Linked DNA regions of Homo sapiens: regions 1 and 2 are each linked to region 3. The links are contacts of gene promoters, found by promoter capture Hi-C in blood cells and fetal thymus (Javierre and others, 2016). All regions are on one chromosome and are shown on one strand. Each heading gives the region's core, a stretch centred on a gene start or on the middle of the fragment in contact. The rest is flanking DNA. Distances are from core to core; before and after follow the strand shown.

Region 1 (2,700 bases), core at 51-2,550, 800 kb after region 3:
CATTGCATCACCTTCTGTCCGTGTGTGTTGGGTTCAAATTTCCCTTTTCTTACATGGATACCATATAACCTGTTAGTGTGGATATGTAAATGTGGAAAAAGGAAAAAGCTCAGAAAAAAGTCAGGGGGTTGGTATAATATGCCACAATGCCCAGCTCTTTTTTTTTTTTTCTGTAGACGGGGTCTTATTATGTTGCCCAGGCTAGTCTCGAACTAATGGGCTCAAGAAATCTCTCCTTGGCCTCCCAAAATGTTGGGATTACAGAGGTAAGCCACCATGCCTGGCCTCTCCCTTTCCTTATTGCAAAATGATCCCAGCTCTCCTAATGCTCAGATCATCAACTACACCCTCCTCTCCCCTTCCGCCTTCTGTATCAAGCAGCTTCCCAGACACTGTCCCCGATCACTGAAAAGTACACTCCTGACTGCCTTTCTGCCCCAATTTCTGCTACTATTTACATGCCAGCCCCACCTTTCCTTAGCCATCTCATCAATAGCAACCTTTTCTGTCACTCCATCTATCTCAGCCACCCAATGCCATTGCCAAACCCTGGATCTTGTCATCACCAGAAAGTGTGCCACCTCAGAAATCTCAAAGTCAGACATTTCCTTCTCCATCCCATCTCCTATCCTTCCAATTTATTTGCTCCAGGATACCTACAAGAACAATTCTTTTTAATTTTTTTATTTCATTTTATTTTTTGAGATGGAGTCTCGCTCTGTTGCCAGGCTGGAGTGCAATGGCACAATCTCAGCTCACTGCAACCTCTGCCTTCCAGGTACAAGCAATTCTCCTGCCTCAGCCTCCTGAGTAGCTGGGACTACAGGCACTCGCCACCACGCCCAGCTAATTTTTGTATTTTTAGTAGAGATGGGGTTTCACCATGTTGGCCAGGATGGTCTCGATCTCTTGACCTTGTGATCCACCCACCTCAGCCTCCCAAAGTGCTGGGATTACAGGCATGAGCTACTGTGCCTGGGTACCCACAGGGACAATTCTTGGGCCTCATTGAGATGTCTCTTCATTAATCCATCATCTCATTCTACAGTGTCCAGCCAGGATTTTGCAACCCAGAGTTATAATCACTCCCTGGCAAACACTCTCAACTTCCTCTCTTTCCCTCTGGAAGAAAAACCCAATTCTACGTAACAGCAACTCCACTGTGTCCACGCCTGCAGATGAACTTTAATGAAAAATTCACCCATCTGGGCAGACTGATCTTATTTAGAAACACAGTCATAAACTTTACATGGGCTTTAAGTAGCCAGAAATTGTACAATGCTTCACTAATAAGTTCACTCTCCCACTCCCTAAAGTAATTCTCTCAGGCCTTTTCTTCTCTCCTCAAGCCTTCACATGCACCCCCATCCCCTTCCTCCCTTATCCTGATGTCTGCAATTCACATTGTAAAACTCCCATATGATCAATGTGATGTTATGCATGTGCCTGTCAGCTTAAACTTCATTCTAAGTGTGGTTAGTAACATGCCATCTTGCACAGTCAAGGGGCCCAGACCTGGTTGTGGTGGGCATGAGGAGCGCTGACGGGATGTGGTGGAGAGAGGGAGGCATGCAGGCACCAAGACACACACCACCTGGTCCCCAGAAGCTGGCATAGCCTCAGGACCTCCAAACCCTGCTGGAGTCATCAGACTCCTGTGCTGCTGATGTTCACATTGGAGTGGATCCATCCATCACCTGGAGAATTTTTATTCTTGGCCTTCCCATCTTCACTCCCTCCCTTACCCCCACTCCCTCCATGTGTTGCTCTGTATGGCCTTCCTACTGATCATGGTTTAGGTCAACCACGGAAGGCATAGACCCATGTCTCTGCAGATCAATGAAGGTTGTATCCTTTTCCTGTGGCTGCTGTAGGAAAATACCAAACACTTGGATGGCTTAAAACAACAGAGACCAGCCTGGGTAACATGGCAAAACCCTGTCTCTACAAAAAATACAAATAAAAACTAGCCAGGTGTGGTGGCATTTACCTGTAGTCCCATCTACTTGGGAGGCTGAGGTGTCAGGATTGCTTGAGCCTGGGAGGTGGAGGTTGCAATGAGCTGAGACCAGGCCACTGCACTCCAGCCTGAGTATCAGAGCAAGGCACTGTCTCAAACAAAAGAAACAACAGAGAATTATCTCCCATTTCTGGGGGCTAAAAGCCTGAGCTCAAGGTGTCAGCAGGACGACACTTTCTCTAAAATCTACAGGGGAGGTCCTTGCGTCTCCTGGTTTCTAGCATCTCTCTGTTTCTTAGATTGTAGATGCCTCATTCCAGTCTCTGCTTTCATCTTCACTTGGGCATCTTCTTCCTGTTCCATTGTATCATCTTCCCTGTGTGTATCTAGGTCCAAAGTTCCCTCTTATAGGGATACCAAGCATACTGGATTAGGCACCTCCCTACTCCAGTTGCATTAGTCTGTTCTCACATCGCTATAAAGAAATACCTGAGACTGGGTAATTTATTTATTTACTTACTTTTTTTTTTTTTGAGACAGAATCTTGCTCTGTTGCCCAGGCTGGAGTGCAGTGGTGCAATCAGGGCTCACTGCCATCTCCACCTCCCAGGTTCAAGTGATTCTCGTGTCTCAGACTCCTGAGTAGCTGGAATTACAGGCATGCACCACCATGCCTGGCTAATTTTTGTATTTTTAGTAGAGATGGGGTTTTGCCAAGTTGGCCAGGCTGGTTTCAAACT
Region 2 (2,700 bases), core at 33-2,532, 880 kb after region 3:
CAACCACCATCAGATGCCCCAGCCAATTCTCGGAGACAGAGAGAGCCAGGAGTTTTGCCAGCCCACCTCAGCTGTGCTGACTGAGCACTGGCCACCAGTGGGCTTCTCTGCTGCTCCCCAAGGGAGGGAAGTGGCCAGCAGGGTTTGAAAGAGTTTCAGTGCTGTTTGCCCCAATGGCCTCTGGGCCCCTGGTGAGGGTGACTGGCTTGGAGCTCCAGGAAGGTGGCAAGGGCTCCATTCCCACCTCATCCTCCAGCTGCCTTTCTCTGGGTGGCGTCTCAGTGAAGCCAGCCTGGGGTCTATCCTCATGTGCTCTCATGATCCCAAGCCCACCTGCATGGGTCGAGGGTCCCTGCATCTCTCTCTCTCTCTCTGTCTCTCTCTGTCCCTCTCTCTCCCTCTTTCCCTCTCTCTCTCTCTCTCCCTCACCCTCTCTCCCTGTCGGGACTTGAGCACCATGGCTCTGCTGTGATGAGCACCATGGCTCTGCTGTGATGTGACTTATGATTGATGCTGCCCCTGAGCGTGCTGGGTGGTCTTCTATGCTTGTCACAAATCTCTGCCATCTAATTCCACCCCCATCGCCCAGATTGCTTCCTTCCGTGTGCCACTCCCCTTCTGGGCACTTGTGGTGATAGGACATATGAGGGGAGGAGCTGGTTTGGGAGGCGCAAAGGCATGATAAACTCGATTTTGAATGTGTCAAATATGACTTACAGGCAGGTTGACAGGATAGAGATGGATTGTCGGCATTTGGTTAGACGTGTGTGGAGCTCAAGAGGGGAGCCTGAGCTGGTGTCTTAGTCTGTTCAGGCTGCTATAACAAAATGCCTTAGATCGGGTAACTCATAGACAACAGAAATGTATTTCCCACGGTTCTGGAGGGTGGGAAGTAAGTCCAAGGTCAAGGTGCTGATGGATTTGGTGTCCGGTGAGGGCTGCTTTCTGATTCACAGGTGAGTCTTCTCTCTGTGTCCTCACGTGGTGGCAGAAGTGAGGCAGCTCTCCGGAGCCTTCTGTATAAGGGCACTAATCCCATTAATGGGGGCTCCACCCTCAAGATCTAATCACCTCCCGAAGGCCCCACCTCCCAACGCCATCACCTTGGGCATTTGGATTTCAACGTGTGAATTTTGGAGGGACACAGATATTCAGACCATAGCAGCTGTGGGTGAAGATTCAAAGACTCAGAAACAGATGGGACCTCCCAGGCAGTGTGTGAAGGGCAAGGCTGGAACCCTGAACACCAGTGACAAGTAGGAGATGGAGAGAGAAAGGAGGATGCTACCATGTGGATGAAAAGGGGCTTTAACACATATTGCTCAGGTGGCCTCACTATGAAATAACAGGACAGATGAAGTCACTGAGTCTCGGGGGCACCTTCACAATCTCTCACAGCTGTTAGTGGCAGAGCCAGGTCTCCAAGTTCAGAATTTTTCTCCCTACATTTGTTCACTTATTCATTCAACAGTCACTGATTGTGCTCTTTTCTGTGTGTGTACAGGGTCTTGTGTTCATACCATGAGCAGCATAGCAGGGACCCAAGCAAGACTGGGAGGAGAGGCGGGATGCAGACAAGTTGGGAACCAGCCACGCCTCTCCTCCTAGCAGGGGAGTTGCTCTAATAGGTTTTAATTTTATTCAGCTTTGGTGAGGCCAATAGATCAGATGATGACTCTCACTGAAGAGAGAGTTTCTTACTCTCAGATCTAAGAGAAGTGGGCACGCCACGCCATGCAGGGACACCCGGGGCAGCACGAGGGCTGGTCAAGAGGCAGAGGGAGAAGAGAACGTGGCCAGAGCCCTTATTATGGTTTCCACAGGAAAGAGTGGGCAAGGCAGGGTTAGCTAGCTCAGGACTGGCTAGTTTAAATCATTTCAGCAGGCTCTGGGGCATACAGGCTGTTCCTATTTGTCAGATACCTGGTCCTGGGTGATTAGGGCAGGGGGATAGTGGCCTGGAGTGTGAGAGCCAGATAAGGGAATTGGTTGGGATGCGAGCTCTGGGTTGGTTTTCATTTGAAAAGCATATCACCCGGAGGACTCCTTCCAGGGGGAGGGGGACAGTGAGGGAGACATATTATTGGGTTGCACAGAGCAAGGTGTGTCCTGCAGATGCACGCGGGGCAGATGTTAAAGCATCAGGTTTACAGAAAGGAGAAACATGGTTAATACAGAAGCAGAAAAGGAATGCAAAACAGAGAACAACTGCAAAGGTGCACATGCGGAAACACAGGTTGATGTCCTGCCAACCCTACTGTGGATGGTCTGTGGACCAGCAGCACCTGGGACTTAGAGAGGCAGCGTCTCAACCCCTCACCCCAGACTGAACGAATCTGAATCTGCAACACCCTCAGGTAACCCATATGTATCTTAAGCCATGATAAGTACTGGCATCAGCTGCAGACAGGCCCGTGGACAGATGGAGGAGGAGGAGGAAAACGTGTGGTTCGTTAGGGAGGCTTCTTGGAGGAGTCCTCTAACAATGAAAGCCAGCTTTCATGTGAAAAGAAATGAGATCTTTTGCCTAAAACAGTGGTTCTCAAAATTGGCTGCAAATTGGAATCACCTGTTGTGTTTTAAAAAGCTCTGGAGGCCAGGCACAGTGGCTCATGCCTATAATTCCAGCACTTTGGGAGGCTGAGGCTGGCAGATCACTTGAGTCAGAAGTTCAAGACCAGCCTGGCCAACATGGCAAAA
Region 3 (2,700 bases), core at 166-2,665:
TGCCAGCCTGATGCTCTCCCCCAAATGACTTGTCGGATTAGAAGGGGTGATTTAATGTGCAAATGGCCATAAACAGGAATCCTCACATTCCCACTTCTTCCACTAGCCACTGAGTTCCTTGAGGGGAGGATAGGAGAGTTTCCTGTTTATTACTCTTGCATTCATCCATTCCACAATTACTAAAGACTTATATAGAATGGGCCAGGCATTCTTCCAGGTGCTGAATGAACAGTAGTCTCTGTCCTTACCGAGTTTGCATTTTAGAGTGGGGATACAAGCAATAAACAAGCAGACACAAATCCGCAATATAATTTCAGGTAGAGGTTAAGTGTGCTAGTTGGGAGAGGGGCTATTTTAGATATGGTGGTCAGGTAAGAACTCTCTGAGGTGCTATCTGAATAAAAACCAGAATTGAGTGGTGCAAACAGCCTAAGGAAAGGGGAAGCAAGTGCAAAGGCCTCAAGACAGAAGTGTGTATCTTGGTGTGTTCCAAGAACTAAGAGGGGAAGCATGGCAGGTACAGAAAAGCAGATCAGGTTGCAAAAGTAGGGCTTGGGCACTTGAGTTTTCTAGATATGGTAGAGTTTGGGCTTTATTCTTAAGTGTGGCAGGAACCACTGAAGTAAAATCCTGCTTCTACCATGATCTGATTGACTTAAGAAACACTGACTTGTATGTGAGCAACAGGCTTTAAAGGAACATGAGTGGACGCAGTTATGGCCAACCAAGAGGCTACAGCAGCAGTCGAGGCAAAAGATGACAGTAAACATGGGCTAGGGTGGAAACGGGAAACTGGTGAGAAGTGGTCGCCGTAAGGATATACTTTGGAAGTAGAGAGGACTTGCTGCTCGAATGTGGGTCTGAGGAAGAAAAGGGTGTCAACAGTGGATTTGTAAAAGTTTGCTGATTACATAGATGTCCTATTATAGTCCTTAAATCGTTTTGGGGGTGCCTATATGTACAGGGCCCATCGTGGGGTGTGGGTGCTCTAGGCTGGAGGTGGGAAGCAGTCGGTGAGCAGCTTAGGGTAACTTGCACGCACTCAAGGAGTGACATGGTGAGCACCTCCGGCCACAGAAGGGCGGAGAGTAACGCAGCTTTGGAAGAGGCGTTTTAAAGAAGTCAGTTTCAAAGGAACCACTTCTTTGCAGGCCAGAGAGAGAAAAGCTGGTCCAGGTCGTGCATTAGGACCCTCCCCATATCAGAATAAGGACCCCTCAAAGCTGGACCCAAATTACCTAGGGCAAGCAGAGCTGCGGGAAAAGGTAGGGGTTTCTGGGGAGCCACTGCTTGGCTAGCGGCGCCATTACCTACATGAAACCAGCACCGCCGGTCACCAGGACCCGCTTCGCAAAGCCGCCGGGAAGACCCCACGGTTCCTCCCAACACGCCGCCGACATCTCCCAGCTCAGCAGTGCCTAGTACCGTAAAGAGTATGGTCTGAAAAGCGCAGGGAAGTTCCGCCGCGACCTTTTGCGACGCGCCTCGCTCGCGGGACACGTTAACAGAGCAGCCAGAGGCAGCTTCCGGAGACTGCTCTGTGGCCAGTTTCTGCCCGCCCACTAGCGGGCTGGGCGGGGCCGCGCTCACCACGCGCAGGCGCTGCTCCTTTCCGCCCTTGCCTGGTCCGCCAGGTGCAATTGGGGTCGCCCGGATGGTAGGGGTATGGAACGTTTTTCCCGGAAATGCCACCACTATGGATCAGATTTATGAATGAGTACCTTTTTTCATTCTTGTACTACAGCCATCTCTAGAGGTTACCTATCAGTTGAGCTGAGAACGGGGAGTTGTTGCAGATGGAGATGGGAGGTTGCAATTTAAAAATGATTTTTTTTTTTAGTGGGGCGGGGACAGGGTCTCCCTCTGTTACCCAGGCTGGAGTGCAGTGGTGCGATCACGGCTCACTGCAGCGTCGACCAATGGGGCTCAAGCAATCCTCCCACCTCAGCCTCCTGAGTAGCTAGGAATACAGTCGTGCGCCACCACGCCCGCCTAATTTTTGGTAGAGATGGGTTTCGCCCTGTTGTCCAGGCTGGTCTCGAACTCCTGGGATCTAGCCAACCTCCCGCCTCAGCCTCCCAAGGTCCTGGGATTACAGGCGTGAGCACCGTGCCTGGCCTGCAAAATGATCTTTTGCTGTTGTTAATATTATTTCAGGCCGGGCGCCGTGGCTTACGCCTGTAATCCCAGGACTTTGGGAGGCCGAGGTGGGCGGATCACCTGAGGTCAGGATTCGAGACCAGCTTGGCCAACATGGTGAAACCCTGTCTCTACTAAAAATACAAAAATTAGCCGGGCGTGGTGGCGGGCGCCTGTAATCCCAGCTACTTGGGAGGCCGAGGCAGGAGAATTGCTTGAACCCGGAAGGCAGAGGTTGCAGTGAGCCGAGACCGCACCATCGCACTCCAGCCTGGGCAACAACAGCAAAACTCCGTCTCAAAAAATAATAATATTATTATTACAGACAGCGCAGAAGGCTTGCAATCATGATAAAGATATTCCCTAGGTCCTACGCTGATGTCTTATTCTATTCTCTCCTTTGCTCACTCCGCCCCAGCCTCCCCACCCTCCTTGCTCTTCATTCAATGTGCCAGGCATGCTACTTCCCCGGGACCTTGATTGTCTTTCCCCAGATGTCTGCCTAGTTTTTACCCTTACTTCCGTTTTCAGCTTGAATGGCATCCTATTGACCACCACAAT

Evidence for each region. Contacts are between HindIII fragments. The CHiCAGO score rates a contact against its expected background, and 5 or more counts as called.
Region 1: a contact is called between a fragment that was not itself captured here and the fragment with the promoter of TGDS in region 3, in 1 of 17 cell types (non-activated CD4 T cells). The highest score is 5.5, in non-activated CD4 T cells.
Region 2: a fragment that was not itself captured here is called in contact with the fragment with the promoter of TGDS in region 3 in 1 of 17 cell types (naive CD8 T cells); the score reaches 6.2 in naive CD8 T cells.

Annotation. Positions count from the first base shown.
Region 1 is chr13:95,390,438-95,393,137 of GRCh38, forward strand. All of the region lies in intron 1 of LOC124903193 (a long non-coding RNA gene), which reads right to left. Among named protein-coding and RNA genes, the nearest start is that of ABCC4, 90 kb to the left of the region's middle. The HindIII fragment of the contact is 5,449 bases long and covers 1-2,700 here.
Region 2 is chr13:95,475,430-95,478,129 of GRCh38, forward strand. It overlaps a transcript of CLDN10 not described here. Among named protein-coding and RNA genes, the nearest start is that of CLDN10-AS1, 57 kb to the right of the region's middle. The HindIII fragment of the contact is 4,663 bases long and covers 1-2,700 here.
Region 3 is chr13:94,594,737-94,597,436 of GRCh38, forward strand. It overlaps TGDS (TDP-glucose 4,6-dehydratase), which reads right to left and starts at 1,416. Exons shown (of 12, transcript NM_014305.4): 1 at 1,315-1,416. The coding sequence starts at 1,400. RefSeq lists an enhancer at 1,280-1,589. The HindIII fragment of the contact is 5,991 bases long and covers 1-2,700 here.